Regions from separate parts of the Homo sapiens genome. Here region 2 is linked to region 1. The links are contacts of gene promoters, found by promoter capture Hi-C in human tissues and cell types (Jung and others, 2019). All regions are on one chromosome and are shown on one strand. The core of a region is centred on a gene start or on the middle of the fragment in contact, and the rest is flanking DNA. Distances in the headings are between cores, read along the strand shown. Region 1 holds the start of RALGAPB (Ral GTPase activating protein non-catalytic subunit beta). Region 2 holds the start of ARHGAP40 (Rho GTPase activating protein 40).

Region 1 (7,068 bases), core at 1,593-4,092:
TCCCAACATGGTGGCTGGGGTCCCAGAGTGAGCATTGTGATAGGGAGCAAGCCAGGTAGAAGCTGTGTCTTCTTTATGACCTAGCCCCAGAAATCACATAGCATCACTTTTGCCCTATTGGTTAGAATGGTCACAGACGCAGCCAGACTCAAGGAGAAGGAACATCAATCCCACTTCTCAGTGGGAGGAGTGTCGGTTACATCATAAGGAGAACCATGGGATGGATCATATAGATTGGTATGGCATCTCCCAGAATGATGCTTTCAGGGTAAATAAAACAAAAAAGACTGGTGTAGTGATCTTTGGAAAAAAGTCTGTCACAAAAGCTTATACCGCTGCTCCTCTTTTTTCCAATTCTGTGCCTTTCCAAACACACTATACACAATGATATTTTGACATTACAGTTCAGATGAAGACATTCCCCAGTTTAGTCGATGTTTCTAGTTAGAGATCATGCCGTGGAACAAATTTGAATTGTGCACTATGTTTGGAGATCCAAAATGTTTTACTATGTGTAGCATCTCATGTGTCTCTTAAGTTTATTGTACATGTGTGCTTTTCTCAAATGTTTCAAAGTGTTCTAATGTTTAGTCTTTAATTTTCCCTCAAGGTATATGTGCGTATGTGTGTTTTATTTTTATGTTTGTTTAAGTGAAGACTTCAAAAGTTTTAAAAAATTAGCAAAGAGTGCAGAAAAAACATATCTTTTATGCCAGGCACAGTGATGTGTGCCTTTAGTTCCAGCTACTTGGGAGGCTGAGGCAGGTGGATCGCTTGGGCCTGGGAGTTTGAAGCCAGCCTGGGCAACATAGCGAGGCCCTGTGTCTTAAAAAAACAAACCATCATTTAGAGAACCACTCACTTGCATCTCTCCTCCACCAACTTGCACCTAATATTAAATCTTGTCTTTCTGTCCAGAGCAGTAAGTCTTACTGCCTTACATGTTATGTAAAAACCATATTTTAAGCAAAATTATTTGTTTGTATAATTTTCTGTTGCATCAATATATTTTTTCTGTTAAAAATATTTAGGTGCCTTAGGCTGGAATTGAACACAATTTTGCCCATTTTAATTAATGGGAAAAATTTAACAGCTTTCCACTTAGAAGCAGAATTTCAGGAATGAATTGAAACCACTAGAAGGGTGATAGCTGTATTTTCATCATCTCCCCAAGGGCTTTGGGACAGCTTTCCCATCCTCTGTGCCTGTCACTTTTCCAATTCCCATCACCCGTTGTTCTTCCAGTTAGTCACCCCTCCCTTGTCTGTTACAGGGGTTCAGTATTAATTGTGTTAGAATGCATCTGGTTGCAAGTAACATAAAACTCAACAAACTCTGGTATATATAAGATCCCTCATCCCGATAAGACAGGAAGGTAGTACAGGGTTTGTGTAGCTGCTTGAGTATGACTTAAACAAACAGGCTCCTGTCTTTCTGCTCCACCTTCCTCAGCACAGCCCTCCTCATGGCCTCTAGGCTGCTGTGCTCCCAGGTGTTACCCAGTTCCAAGCATGAAGCAGGGGAAAAGTGAAGGACACAAACTTCTCCAAGGGAAGAAGGAAGGGAAGGTCTCCTTTGATACTTCTGCCTACATCTCAGTGGCCAGGACTTTGTCTCACTGCCACCCTTAGCAGCAAAGAAAGTTGAGAGTTGTGTGCTTTGCTTTTCAGCCCCTGTAGTATAGAAAGGCAAGGGAGTGGTTGAAATAGATCTTGAGTTAGCCAACTACATAATTTGTCACACTGTGTTTAATTGAAATGTATTGCTTGGATCCAGTGTCCTGGACATAGCCTCGTTCCTGTCCTAGCACATTCTTACCCTCCTTTTCCCTCTTCCTTCCTGTAGCTATTTTTCTGGGGGGTGAGGTGTGGTCTTGAGGAAACACTCTTCAGTTTTACCCTTTCTGTGAGGATACTAGTTCCCTTATCACTCATTCCTCCATAGTCTCTTCTAACTGAGGTGAGGAGTCAGAATCTTCTTTGCTCCCTTCTGCTTTTCAGACAACCGTGCCTTCACCTCTACTCAACACCCTGACCCCTCCTCCCTCTCTCAATACCCAAGGTCAGTCTCAAGGCCAGGTCCTCCGTGAAGAATTCCACCATCCCTCCCTCCTCTTCTTTCTCAGTCCAAGTTTCCTCCTTTAGATTCTCAAAGCACTTAAGCTGTACCTCTCCAATGGTATTATTTTCTTCGTTGAAGTGAAAGCAAATTATTGAAAGTGGTACTGTTTACAAAATGTCTAGCGCATGGCAGGTGCTCGAAGTAGTATCTCTTAGTATTATTACTACTGTCTTATCTCGATCAGATTCAGCTCTTTAATGAGAGGCTCTAAATCTTATGTTCGATTCACCTTTGTAACCCACACCGGGCCTGGAATAGAGCACTGTTCATAATTAATGCTGTGCCCGTGTAATAAGACGGCGGCGAGCAAAGGGCATCATTTCAGAGGAAGAGTGCTGTAATGGTGGGATGGGAGAAATTCCTAGAACCTAGGTGGGAGCCAGAATCTTGCAGAGAAGCCCCTTATCCGTCTGCACCGAAAGCAGGTAGAGTGGATGCCGTAAGATTCCTAAGGACGCAGGTAGAGCGCCTCCTCTGTGCCGCGATGAGGTAGGTGCATCCGTCACTTCACTCCTCCCTCTCCACTTGATCCGGAATGGGAGGAACGCAATGCGTCCCGCGCGGCGATCTGGGATAGCTGCGCAGGCGCAGCTTCCGGCTCTGTGTCTCGGGAATTATTTGACGCCACCGGTTCAGCCCCGTAGAAAGCTCTGATTAGGCGCACCGCGCACGCGCAGTGGCCCACTTGGCTGGGGAGTTATTTGACGCCGCCGCCCCTGGCAGTCGGAAGTTGCCTGAGCAGATCCCAGCCGGCTGGCTCGAGTGGCCTTCGTCGTCCCTTGGCGCCCTGGGAGAGTCGCTGACGGGTGGACTGACGGACCGCCTGAGGACGGCCGGCCAGGGCGGTGAAAGCGCCAGCCCTATGGCGCGGGTCGCGTGAGGCGGAAGGCCGAGGACGGCCGGCGGCGGCGCCCGCCCCGGCGATGCGGGCCCCGCCCGTCGCCTCAGGTAACCGGGCAGCCGGCCCCGCCGCGGCCGGACCCTCCCCTCTCCTTCCCTCTCTTCCCCACCTGGCGGTCAAGGGACGGCTGAGGCTTGTTTCTCGGCTCTGGGTGCTCCAGGGGCCCGGCCTTTGGAAGCTCATCTGCAAATTTTTGGGAGACCCACGGGGGCGGGGAAAGCTTGGCCCTGGAGTGGGCGGCTGCTGTCGAGTCTGTGTAAACCCGGTCTAATCCTTGGGAGCTACCCCGGCCAGGCGAAGCTCTCTCCTGGCAACCTGGGGGAGGGGGCGGGTCTGGAGCGGAGCTAGACAACTCCCGCAAAGAATTTGGTCCAGCAGAAAGGTTAGGCAAGTTGCTGCCGCCCAGTGGGGACGATGCTGCCCATTGCACAGTGACACTTTGATGAGGGAGAGTTGATGATGGGAGTAAACAGCTAACCCCCATTAAGCGCTTCTTATCCGCCAGGCATCATGCCAGGCCATTACGTTCTCCACGTCTAACTTCACAGCAACCCTGTGAGGTAGGATTGTTGTCCCCATTTTACTGACGAGGCAACTGAGTCCCTGGGTGGTTGGGTGACTTAATTACCCAAGGTCACATAGCTAGTAATTTGAACCGGAGCATCCGACCCAAGTGCTTAACAATTAGGGCAGTGGCTCTCCAACTTTGCTACACTGTAGAATCACCTGGGGGAAATTGTAAAGGTTTCTGATGCCCATGTGGCATCCCAGACCAAAACAATCAGAATGTCTGGAGTTGAAAGCCAGACTTCAATATTTTTTTTTTAAAGATGCCCAAGTGATTCCAGCTTGCAGCAAAGTTTGGGAACCGCATGTAATTTGATAATTCTGCATCTCAAAAAGCATCTCTCTTTCTCCAGCTTAAGTGTGCAGGAGAATTGTCTGGGAGCTTGTTAAACTTGCAGGTTCCACCCGCAGAGATCTTTAGGTTGACTGACCACTACACCTTGTGAAAGACTGTTAGGGATGGAATTCTCTGCAGGGATTCTGAGTCATCTGGAACATTTAAAATGTATGCATCTTATGCAAACTGCTCGTTTGCAATTTTCCTAAATATACAGTACTTATAGGTGTAGCGTCTGTAACCTCTGGGTCGTTTTTACATATGCTGGAAGTCTGCCTAGACCATCCTCTGAACGTTCTGGCCATCCCACCCAAACGCACACACTTCTGCTCTCTCCTATATGCATATACACACCCTTTTCTTTTCTTTCTTTCTTTTTTTTAGACAGAGTCTTGCTCTGTTGCCCAGGCTGGAATGCAGTGGCATGATCTTGGCTCACTGCAACTTCCGCCTCCTGAGCTCAAGCAGTCCTCCCACCTCAGCCTCTCAAGTAGCTGGGACTACCACGCTTGGCTAATTTTTGAATTTTTTTTGTAGAGATGGGGTTTCTCCATGTTGCCCAGGCTGGTCTCAAACTCCTGGGCTGAAGCAGTCCACCCACTATGGTCTGCCATAGTGGTGGGATTACAGATGCGAGCCACTGTGCCAGGCCTACATACCCTTTTCTTCCTGTCTCTGGCTGCATTAGCTTTAAGCATTCCCTTCAAGATACCTCTGTCCCTGACCCCTACCCACCTTGAGTCCTTCCAATTTGCTCTTTAGGAACATCGTAGTGAAACTTATCAGTTATTTTTCTGAGTTGTAGTTCTATCCCTACTTCTAGATTATGAGAAGCTTTAGGGCAGGGACTATGTTTTCTTCATCTCTGTATTCCTTCCAGTGCTTTGACATACAGACTCACAAAGCTTTTACTCAGTGGAATGTTTGGGTCCTTTTATGTCATAGATAGATCATGTTGCGAACAGATTCTTCTCTATTTCCATTTTTGTAAAAGATGTTTGGTAGTTCCCAGCTTATAGAGTTTTGTTCTTTTTGCTTAGGAGTGAGTATTCTAGTTATGTTCAGCAATTTGTCCAGCAGTTGAACACACACATTGAGTTCTTACCAATTGCAAGGCACTCTGTAACTAACCATGTGCAATCAACATTGTTTGATTTTTAATGTCTGATTCTATCACAATCGGACGCAATCATGTCTGTAGGGAAAGTCTTTTTATTACTGTTAGACCTTTGCATGTGTTCCCTACTTCATTGTCCAAAAAAGTGTTTAGTTGTCATCCACTAAATGCCACTGCCTTGTTGGTATTTGGTAAATACAAGCAGATGGGATTGCCATTGGTAATGTTTGGTCCTGTTCACCAGGAGAGAGGACGTTAAGTACTTAATGAAGAGTAAAATCATGTTGTCACAGGAATTGACAAATTTAGCACATATTTATTGCAGAATGCCTGAACTGCCATTGCCCCATTTGCCATATTTACAAGTTTAAAGGAAGGCAGACCAATAATTCAGATTGGATTTGTTCTTGGTTGGTCTTAAAACCATGTAAGGATTTGCAAAAGTTAGTGAATATGTGTGTGAAGGTCATTATGAGGAGGTTTTTGGACAATAAAGATTTTTTTTTGTATAGCAATTAAACATGACAAAGTATGTAGACTGAATTAAAAACACATTTCATAAAATTTTTTTTTTCTTTTTTTTTTTTTTGAGATGCAGTCTCGCTCTGTCCCCCAGGCTGGAGTGTAGTGGCGCAATCTCAGCTCACTACAACCTCCGCCTCCTGGGTTCAAACGATTCTCCTGCCTCAGCCTCCTGAGTAGCTGGGACTACAGGCACCCACCACCACACCTGGCTAATTTTTTTGTATTTTTAGTTGAGAGGGGGTTTCGCCATGTTGGCCAGGTTCATGTCGAACTGCTGACCTTAAGTGATCTGCCTGCCTAGTCCTCCCAAAGTGCTGGGATTACAGGCATTAGCCACCGTCCCCAGCCCATAAAATATTCTTTATAAGGATTGTTATAGAAAAATTTTCTTGGTTCCGTTTTGTATTATTTGGTCAGTTTTTAGGCTTAGCACTAATAGAAACTGATGGGACAACTTATGTTAAATTCAGATACTCAAGAAACTTGTCCTTGTGTGTCTGATCAGATAGGGACACAGTATCCAGTTCTTGCTTTAGCACATGGAAGAAACTCAATCTTTAAGGCTGAAGGTTTAAGTCTGTAGTTGTGCCCCAAAGTAAAGGTGAAAAATTCCACATGCTCAGAGAACAAAAGTGACTCTAATCATGATAGCTTGGGACCTAGAAATGGATTCTGTTTAATACGAGGTACTCATCAGTGTTAGCAGGTGTGTTTCCTGACATGTGCAAAGACTTTTTGGGCAGAATAGTTGATTTTCTTTGGTGCGAGATGATTTAAGTTTTAAAATTAAGGTGCATGGAGTTTCATTCTAACTTTTTATAGATGCGGAAAGTAACTTGGTCAAGGCTACATGGTTAGCTTCTAGCACCTCCAGGACTAGAAAGCAGGCCTCCTTCCTCTGGACGGTGTCCCCTTTCGCCCCCGACCCCTTCCCCATGAGAAAGGTTGTCTTGTGTATTGTTGTGTTGTGTTTGCCTGTCTGTGTGTGCATGGGATAGGGAAGGGGAGAGAGTGATCTGCTATGTTTGAGAAACTCAATTAGATATCTAGAGGCCCCTCGACTTATGATGGGATTACTTCCCAATAAACCTATCAAAGTTGAGAAGATCGTAAGCCAAAAATGCATTTAATATACCTACTGAACAGAATAGCTTAGCCTCATCTACCTTAAACATGCTCAGAACATTTACATTAGCGTACAGTTGAGCAAAATTGTCTAGCACAAAGCCTATTTTATAATAAAGTGTTGAATATTTCATGTAATTGATTGAATATTGTACTGAAAGTGAAAAACAATGGTTATGTGGATAATCAGAGTACGGTTTTTACTGAACGCATATCACTTTCACACCCTGGTACAGTTGAAAATAATAAGTTGAGGATAGTGAGTACTTGGTGTGTGAAATGCACTTAGCTATATAAACTGGGAATACAAAGATAAATAAGACACGGCCCCTGTCCTCAAGGAGTCTAATCAAAGTTATAATAAAATAATAGTGT
Region 2 (7,068 bases), core at 1,567-4,066, 130 kb after region 1:
GCATGGTAGCTCATGCCTGTAATCCCAGCACTTTAGGAAGCGGAGGTGGAAGCATCACTTGAAGCCAGGAGTTTGAGACCAGCCTGGGCAACATAGTGAGACCCCTGTCTCTACAAAACAATAAATAAAAATGGCTGAGTGTGGTGGCACACGCCTAGTAAATCCTAGCTCCATCCAGAGACTGAGGCTGGAGGATCGCTTGAGCCTAGGAGGTCAAGGCTGCAGTGAGCTGTGATCACACCACTGCACACCAGCCTGGGTGATACAGTGAGAGCCAGTCTCAGAAAAGAAAAAGGAAGAAGCTGAGCACCTGGAAATTAGATGCTCTATGTACATTGTGTGCCAGGCCCCATTTAAGTGCTTGATGTGTATTATCCCACCAAATCCTCACAACCACCCCTCAAGCCAGGCAAGGTTTTCATTTAAATGATGTGGAAGCTGTGACTGAGAGAGGTTAAGGCATTTGCCTGAAGTCACACAGCCTAAGTGGCAGAGCTGAGGATCAGCCTGAAGCCTATGAGGCTCCACCTCATCACACTACATAGGACTGTGCTGTAGTGTGGAGTGGGGGCTGCTTGGAGGGGCAGAAAGCCAGGGAGGAAATGCTGAGCACACAGCACACAGGCCCTGGGGGGCTTTCTGGGTCTGAGGGACCTGGAATGAGTCTCTGCGATAGTGAGAGGCCTAGCTGATGGCAGGCTGCCTGGGGAGGTGCTGGCGAGCTGCCAGGGTGCAGGGCCAACAGGTCTGAGCCACTCCACTGTGACCTAACCGGCCTGGCCGATACTGCAGGTGGGGGGCTGGGACAGGGCTCAGCCGGGGGTGAGGAATGTTGCCCTGAGCGTGGGTACACTCACTTCTCCAGGCTTCATTCTGAGTATACGCGCGGCTCTCCCGGAAGCGAAGAGGGCACTTCCTTACAGAGGCTTGAAAGTGTGGTCATCCAAGATTCAGGCCACTCTCTCTTCCTTCCTGCTTTCTTCTGAAAGGTTCCTTGCACCTAAGGAAGGTAACAATGAACTATGTTTTCAGTCTGGACTAGAAGTTCATTTACCCAGGTACTAACTTGTTTACTCACTCAAGCATTTATTCATTCATTCACTCATTTACTCTTCCCCCCATTCACCTAATGGCTCACTGATTCATTCATTCACTCATGCTCTCACATATTCATGCCCACAGCCATTCACTCTTCCACCTACCCATCCACCTACCCATCCATCCATCCATCCATCCATCCATCCATCCACCCATCAAACCAACCATCAACCTCTTATTCAATTGCCTTCCCATTCATCCCTTCTCTCATCCCCCATTTTCCCAACCAATCTTTCATTCTTTCTTCCATCTATCTATGCATCCATCTATCCATCCATCCACCCAACCTTTATTAAGCACCTACCATGTTTCCCACCCAAAACTCCCTATGGCTCCCAAAGTAGTTCTGCACCCACTTCGGCTGACAATTCACCTACATATTGGACCCCAGCTCCTTGGCCTCACAGTGGCATGGTTCCCTTGTCTCCTCCTCAGGAGGAGGCTCAGGAGAAGTGGATGGGTGGTCTTCTGCACAGCCCTGGTCTGCAGGTTCCAGCCAGTGACAGCCACCTGAAACTTGGGGTTTTTCAGGACCCTTTGTGTTGCGAGGCCTTTCCCGTCTTTAATGCCAGAACCATGCATGCTCCTGGGCTCTATGGCTCCCGTGGGGCCCTGTTTTCAGTTTCTTGGGGCCCATTTCTTGCCTCCCTAAGGCCAGAACAGAGCTTCAGACTGTGGGGACCCATAGACTTGGGGGCCCTCCTTGATGAGGACTCTGGGGCCTCTCTTCTTGGAGTACAGGTGAATATGCTTCCTGGAAAGATTCACTGACACCCGGAGGCTTAGAGGAGGGCAGGGCGGGCCCGGGCAATCTGGGGAAGTCTATGGCATTCAGTCCTGGCCAGAGGGCAAGAGAAGGGGCTCATGGTCCAAAATGGATGCAGGGAATAGGACACCGCCAGGGAAGCTGGCAGGAGCGCTTCTCATACGTTCCCCAAATGCCCTACTGCAACACCTTGGCTTGTGTCCTTGTTGGCACCTGGAAACCCCTTCCCACTCCCCACCCTGACACTCAGCCTCTGCTCTCCTCTCAGCTGAGTCCACACTCTCCTGCTCTTTGCTTTCAGACACTCTGGTCGCCTTCCCCCAGGGCCCCTACAGAGCTCCATAAAGATTTGCTAAGTGAATGAATGAGTTCTCATTTTACAGAAGAGGGGGTTAAATTCCCTGGGTTTTCCCCTTACCCAGCCTTTCCCCAGCTAGTTCCTCCTCCTTTACATCCCAGCCAAAAGACCAATCCCGGGAGGCTCTCCGGACGCCCCCTCACTTTGCCACTCCCATTTCCTGCTCCCTTCCTATCCTCCCGCCCCCGTGCCCAGGTCCTGCTCTCTTTACACCCTGACATCTTCCTGCTTGCTTTTTTCCTGTCTCCTGGCAAATGTCACCATCCCCATTTCACAGAGGAGGAAACCGAGGCTCAGAGAAGCCTCAGAGGGAATAGCCCAGCCAGATAAAAACCCCTGGGTCGTGAGCACGTTCTTCCACCCATAGTAGCCAGGTGCTTTATTCATGTGGTTTTACTCTGAAATCGGGATGGCTGTAGGTAATAATAGTGGCCATGCAAATCATATTTCATGACAGTTTTTGAAAGGCGCCGTTTCCACCTCGCAGTTCCAGTGCAGGCGGGTGGGACTCAGTGGTGTGTGTGTGTGCGGCGAGTGCCTGCCTGTAGGTGGCCCCGGCCAAGCCAGCCCCGCCCCAGGAGGAGGCTGAACATTAGTCCTGCATGAGGGTGTCTGGGAACTGGGTGCGCCACGGGGGCCCTACCTCACTCCTCCCTCTCACATTGCCGATCGAGTCAGCCCCACGGCGGCAGCACCACGACCGACCGGGATCCTCGAGGTGCCAGCCCATGGCCGAGCCTGCCCTCCTCCCCGCCGCCCAGATGGAGAGGCTGGCCCCAGGGCCCCTAGCCTCACCGTGTCCTCGGATCCCGCGGGCCCGCATTGCCAGGCGCTGCGCCCAGCGCTGGGCCGACCTGGGCTGCAGGTACAGGGGTCACGGGAGCGGGAGGGAAGTTGGCCCTACTATGCACCAGGGGCATGTGCGGTCTGTCTTCACAACATCCCTGTGAGGCAAGAATCTTCCTCCATCGTACAGATGAGGAAACAGAGGCTTGGAGAGCCCGGTCACCTGGCTGTCAAGTGGTGGAGATGGCTTTTAGCCCTAGTCCATGGGACTCCAAACCCAGAGCCTTCCTGGGACACAGCATTGCCCTGGGTTCAGGCTACTGGCCTCCTGCAGGGGTCACTGATTTTCAGATTCTTAGAGACCGTGAGTGACGCCAGTATGTGCCATTTCCTCTTCCTCTGGGTGTAGAGTCTTAGGGGGCCCAGGGGCTCAAGATTCAGGAGTCTCTGGGTCAAGTTTCTGGGTCAGTGTGGCCGTGTGGTCACCTCGGCTGAGAACTGGTCACCCCTTATTCCTGCTCAGCCTGCCACTGACAGCCAGACCAGAATTTTCAAATAGTCATTTCCCCCACTCTGATTACATCATATTACAATTTGATTATTATAGAAAGTCAAACAGTGCAGGAATACTGTACAGGAATACATATGTTCATTCTTGAAAACTTACTACTGTTAAAGTTTTGACATATACCTTGGGAGAACTTTTTGACATATGTAAACCTAAACTTGTATAGTTTTACACAAATAGGCTCTTGTGTTACATGTGCTTGTAAGGTTTTCCCCTGCAACCCCTCAATTAATGTTATGGACATATTTACATGTCAGTAACATAAAGATCCAATTCATTCACTTTAGTGGCCTGCCAGGATCCAACTTTATGGATATCTTTGGTTAATTTGAATCAGTTCCTGGCTAATGGACATTTAGGTTGGTTCCAATTTTTAACGATTCTAAGCAATACAGCAATGAACATCTCTGGGGACTTGCATGGGTAAAATTCACATCCTAGACTTGTAGTTGCAAGTTTAAAAGGAATGTTAGAATCTGAATAGACCCTGCCCTCCAAAAGTGTTCTAGCTTGGAACACACCTGCAGCAGGAGACCCCCATTGCCCCATTCATTTGCCACCCAAGGACCTGAAGACTAGACGTGGTCTGTACTCAGAAAGCAGATTCAGGGAGCAGGTGATCCTGATCGTAGGACAACTGAGTCCTAGAATTCCCTTAAGGGAACAACTTCTAGGCTCAGGAAAGGGAGGGGGAGCTTAGTGAGACCATTTCATTCATACAGCATGTTCGCTGAGCTCCTATGTGCGTGGGGCTCTGCCCCATCACAGGCAAAAATTACTCAGGATAGGATTTTAATAAGAATCAATTTTAAGAAGCCAAAGACAAGTTTGTTTATCTGTCTATCTATCTATCTATCTATCTATCTATCTATCTATCTATCTATCTATCTATCTATTCTATATCTAATCTATCCATCTATCTATCTATTCTGTATCTAATCTATCTATCCATCTATCTATTCATCTATCTATGTTTCCTATTGCTGCTATAACAAATCACATAAGCTTATCTATCATCTCTCTCTCTGTCTCTCTCTCTCATTTATATTAGTTTTCTATTGCTGCTATAACAAATCACATAAACTTAGTAGCTTAAAACGACACAAATGTGTTATCTGACAGTTCTGAATGCTGGAAATCCCCAAATCGAGGAGTCTGTAGGGGTGCATTCTGTCTGGGGGCTCTAGCAATCTGTTTCCTTGCCTTTTCCAGCTTCTGCAGCTGCCCACATTCCTTGGCTGATGGTCCTCTTCCGTCTTCAAAGGCAGCTCTGTAACATCTTCACACATCTCTCTGACTCTGACCTCCACAGTCATCCCCATGTCTCCTTCTCTGACTCTCCTGCCTCCCTCTTTCATTGATAAGGATCCTTGTGATGACATTGGGCCCACTGGCTAATCCAGGATCGTCCCCCCAACTCAAGATCCTTAGCTTAATCACATATGCAGAGTCCCTTTGCCTGATAACATATATTCACAAATACTGAGGATTAGGATGTGGACATCTTGGGGAGCTGTTATTCAGCTGATCACACCATCTATCCAACCATGCGTCGTCCGTCCATCCATCTATCTACCTATCTACCTACCTATTATGGCTGTTCCCCTGACTCCACCACCACCCTCCCTTAATCTCCTGGTTCCTTGTGATCTTTGAGGCAATTAATATTGAATTCACTATAAGAGCTCGTGACCCATTGAATGTGCTTAATAGCTACTGGTTGAATGAACAGATGAAAAATACTTAAGAGAGTTTAAAATTTGAACCATTCTGTTTATTACTGAAAACAAAACAACAAAAGCAACATTTTTACTTCCAGAACAGTGGTGTTTTTTTTTTTTTTTTGAGATGGAGTCTCACTCCGTTGCCCAGGCTGGAGTACAATGGCACGATCTCGGCTCACTGCAACCTCCGCCTCCCGGGTTCAAGTGATTCTCCTGCCTTAGCCTCTTGAGTAGCTAGGATTACAGGCGTGCGCCACCACGCCTGGCTAATTTTTGTATTTTCAGTAGAGATGGGGTTTCATCATGTTGGTCAGGCTGGTCTCGAACTCCTGAGCTCATGATCCACCCGCCTTAGCCTCCCAAAGTGCTGGGATTACAAGCGTGAGCCAATGCGCCTGGCCCAGAACAGTGGTTTTTAAACCAGGGTTCTGCAAACATTTTATTTGAATTTAATTTTTATTATATCTTTCAAGTATTAAACATCTAGTAAAAATACTACCTCCACTCAGGTATCCCAAATGTTTTTTGTCAACTAAAATTATCTTGATTGTATGATCAGTAAATGCTTTAAATTAAACTTATAAAATCAGCTTATAATAATATCACCGTTACCTCTTTTGTTTATTGAGAAGACATTCCACTGCCAAAGAAAAAAAAAAAAGCGAAAACTACTTCCCTGGAACAAGGTTGGTCTGTTTGCTCCAGGCTAATGTTCTTGTGTATTGGCTCACAAGGTCACTAGGTCAGCTCCCCCAATCCTTTGAGTCTGTTCATCTCACTGGTCCCTTGCTTGTGAGTCATTTAGTTATTCAACAAATTCCAGCAGGACGGCAACCTTCAGGATGTAAGCCCGGATCTGTTCTGTTTACCCACAGCTCTCCAGCACTGGCACAGGGCTGGCTTGTTGTAGGTGTTCATGAAATATTTCCCTGATGAATGAAATGCTCACTGCCTCTACATGAAGTCCTGTGATGGATATGAGGGTGTGGGCATGAATAAGATGCTCTCTCAGCCCTTAAGATGTCCACAGGCTGGTCCAGGAGGAAGACATAACACTGGTCACTACCACATAATACACTAAATGCTGACCTGAAAGGCCTGAGCAGGGATGAATAGAGTCAATGTTGTCATCAAACAGAACATCCCATAATGTGAGGGGGACACCGAATTCACTGTCTATGTGGACTTCATCTTAAAACCATGCAATATTGGCCTTGGGAGGTGCCTCAAAGACCCAGTTGGAGTGAGGTGACTCTGTTGGGATTCCCCTTATCCTTGCTCCCTGTAGAAATATATTTTCTGTTAATTCATGATTGGTATAAAAATGCAAAAAAAGTAGCAAGTGAAATCCACCTGCCCCTCCCACCTCCAACCCACAAGAACAGCAATTGTGAGAAGTTAAGTGTACATCCTATAGGATTTTGTGCTTCATAAATATTTACATACATGTATACGTAAAATGTATCTATGATCCAATCCATGCACATAATTGTACTTACATACGTGAATTGGTTTGTATTATGTATACTATTTTATAAATGACATTTCCATCTTTATAATATCTTTTCCTGGAAAGACATAGAAATCAACATTATTCTTTTTTTTTCTTTTGGAGACAGAGTCTTGCTCTATTGACCAGGCTGAGGCTGGAGTGCAGTGGTGGAATCACTGCAGCCTCAACCTCCCAGGCTCAAGTGATCCTGGGACCACAGGCATGCACCACCACGCCTAGCTATTTTTTTCATTTTTGTAGAGACAGGGTCTCCCT

What was found. Contacts are between HindIII fragments. The study calls those that stand out against the background at their distance.
Region 2: a contact is called between the fragment with the promoter of ARHGAP40 here and the fragment with the promoter of RALGAPB in region 1, in 1 of the 25 tissues and cell types used here (heart right ventricle).

What each region holds. Positions count from the first base shown.
Region 1 is chr20:38,470,001-38,477,068 of GRCh38, forward strand. RALGAPB (Ral GTPase activating protein non-catalytic subunit beta) reads left to right here and starts at 2,843. Exons shown (of 30, transcript NM_020336.4): 1 at 2,843-3,069. RefSeq lists an enhancer at 2,564-2,633 and a silencer at 2,924-3,123. The HindIII fragment of the contact is 4,688 bases long and covers 1-4,001 here.
Region 2 is chr20:38,598,993-38,606,060 of GRCh38, forward strand. ARHGAP40 (Rho GTPase activating protein 40) reads left to right here and starts at 2,817. Exons shown (of 15, transcript NM_001164431.3): 1 at 2,817-3,087. The coding sequence starts at 2,951. RefSeq lists an enhancer at 1,398-1,939. The HindIII fragment of the contact is 9,850 bases long and covers 1-7,068 here.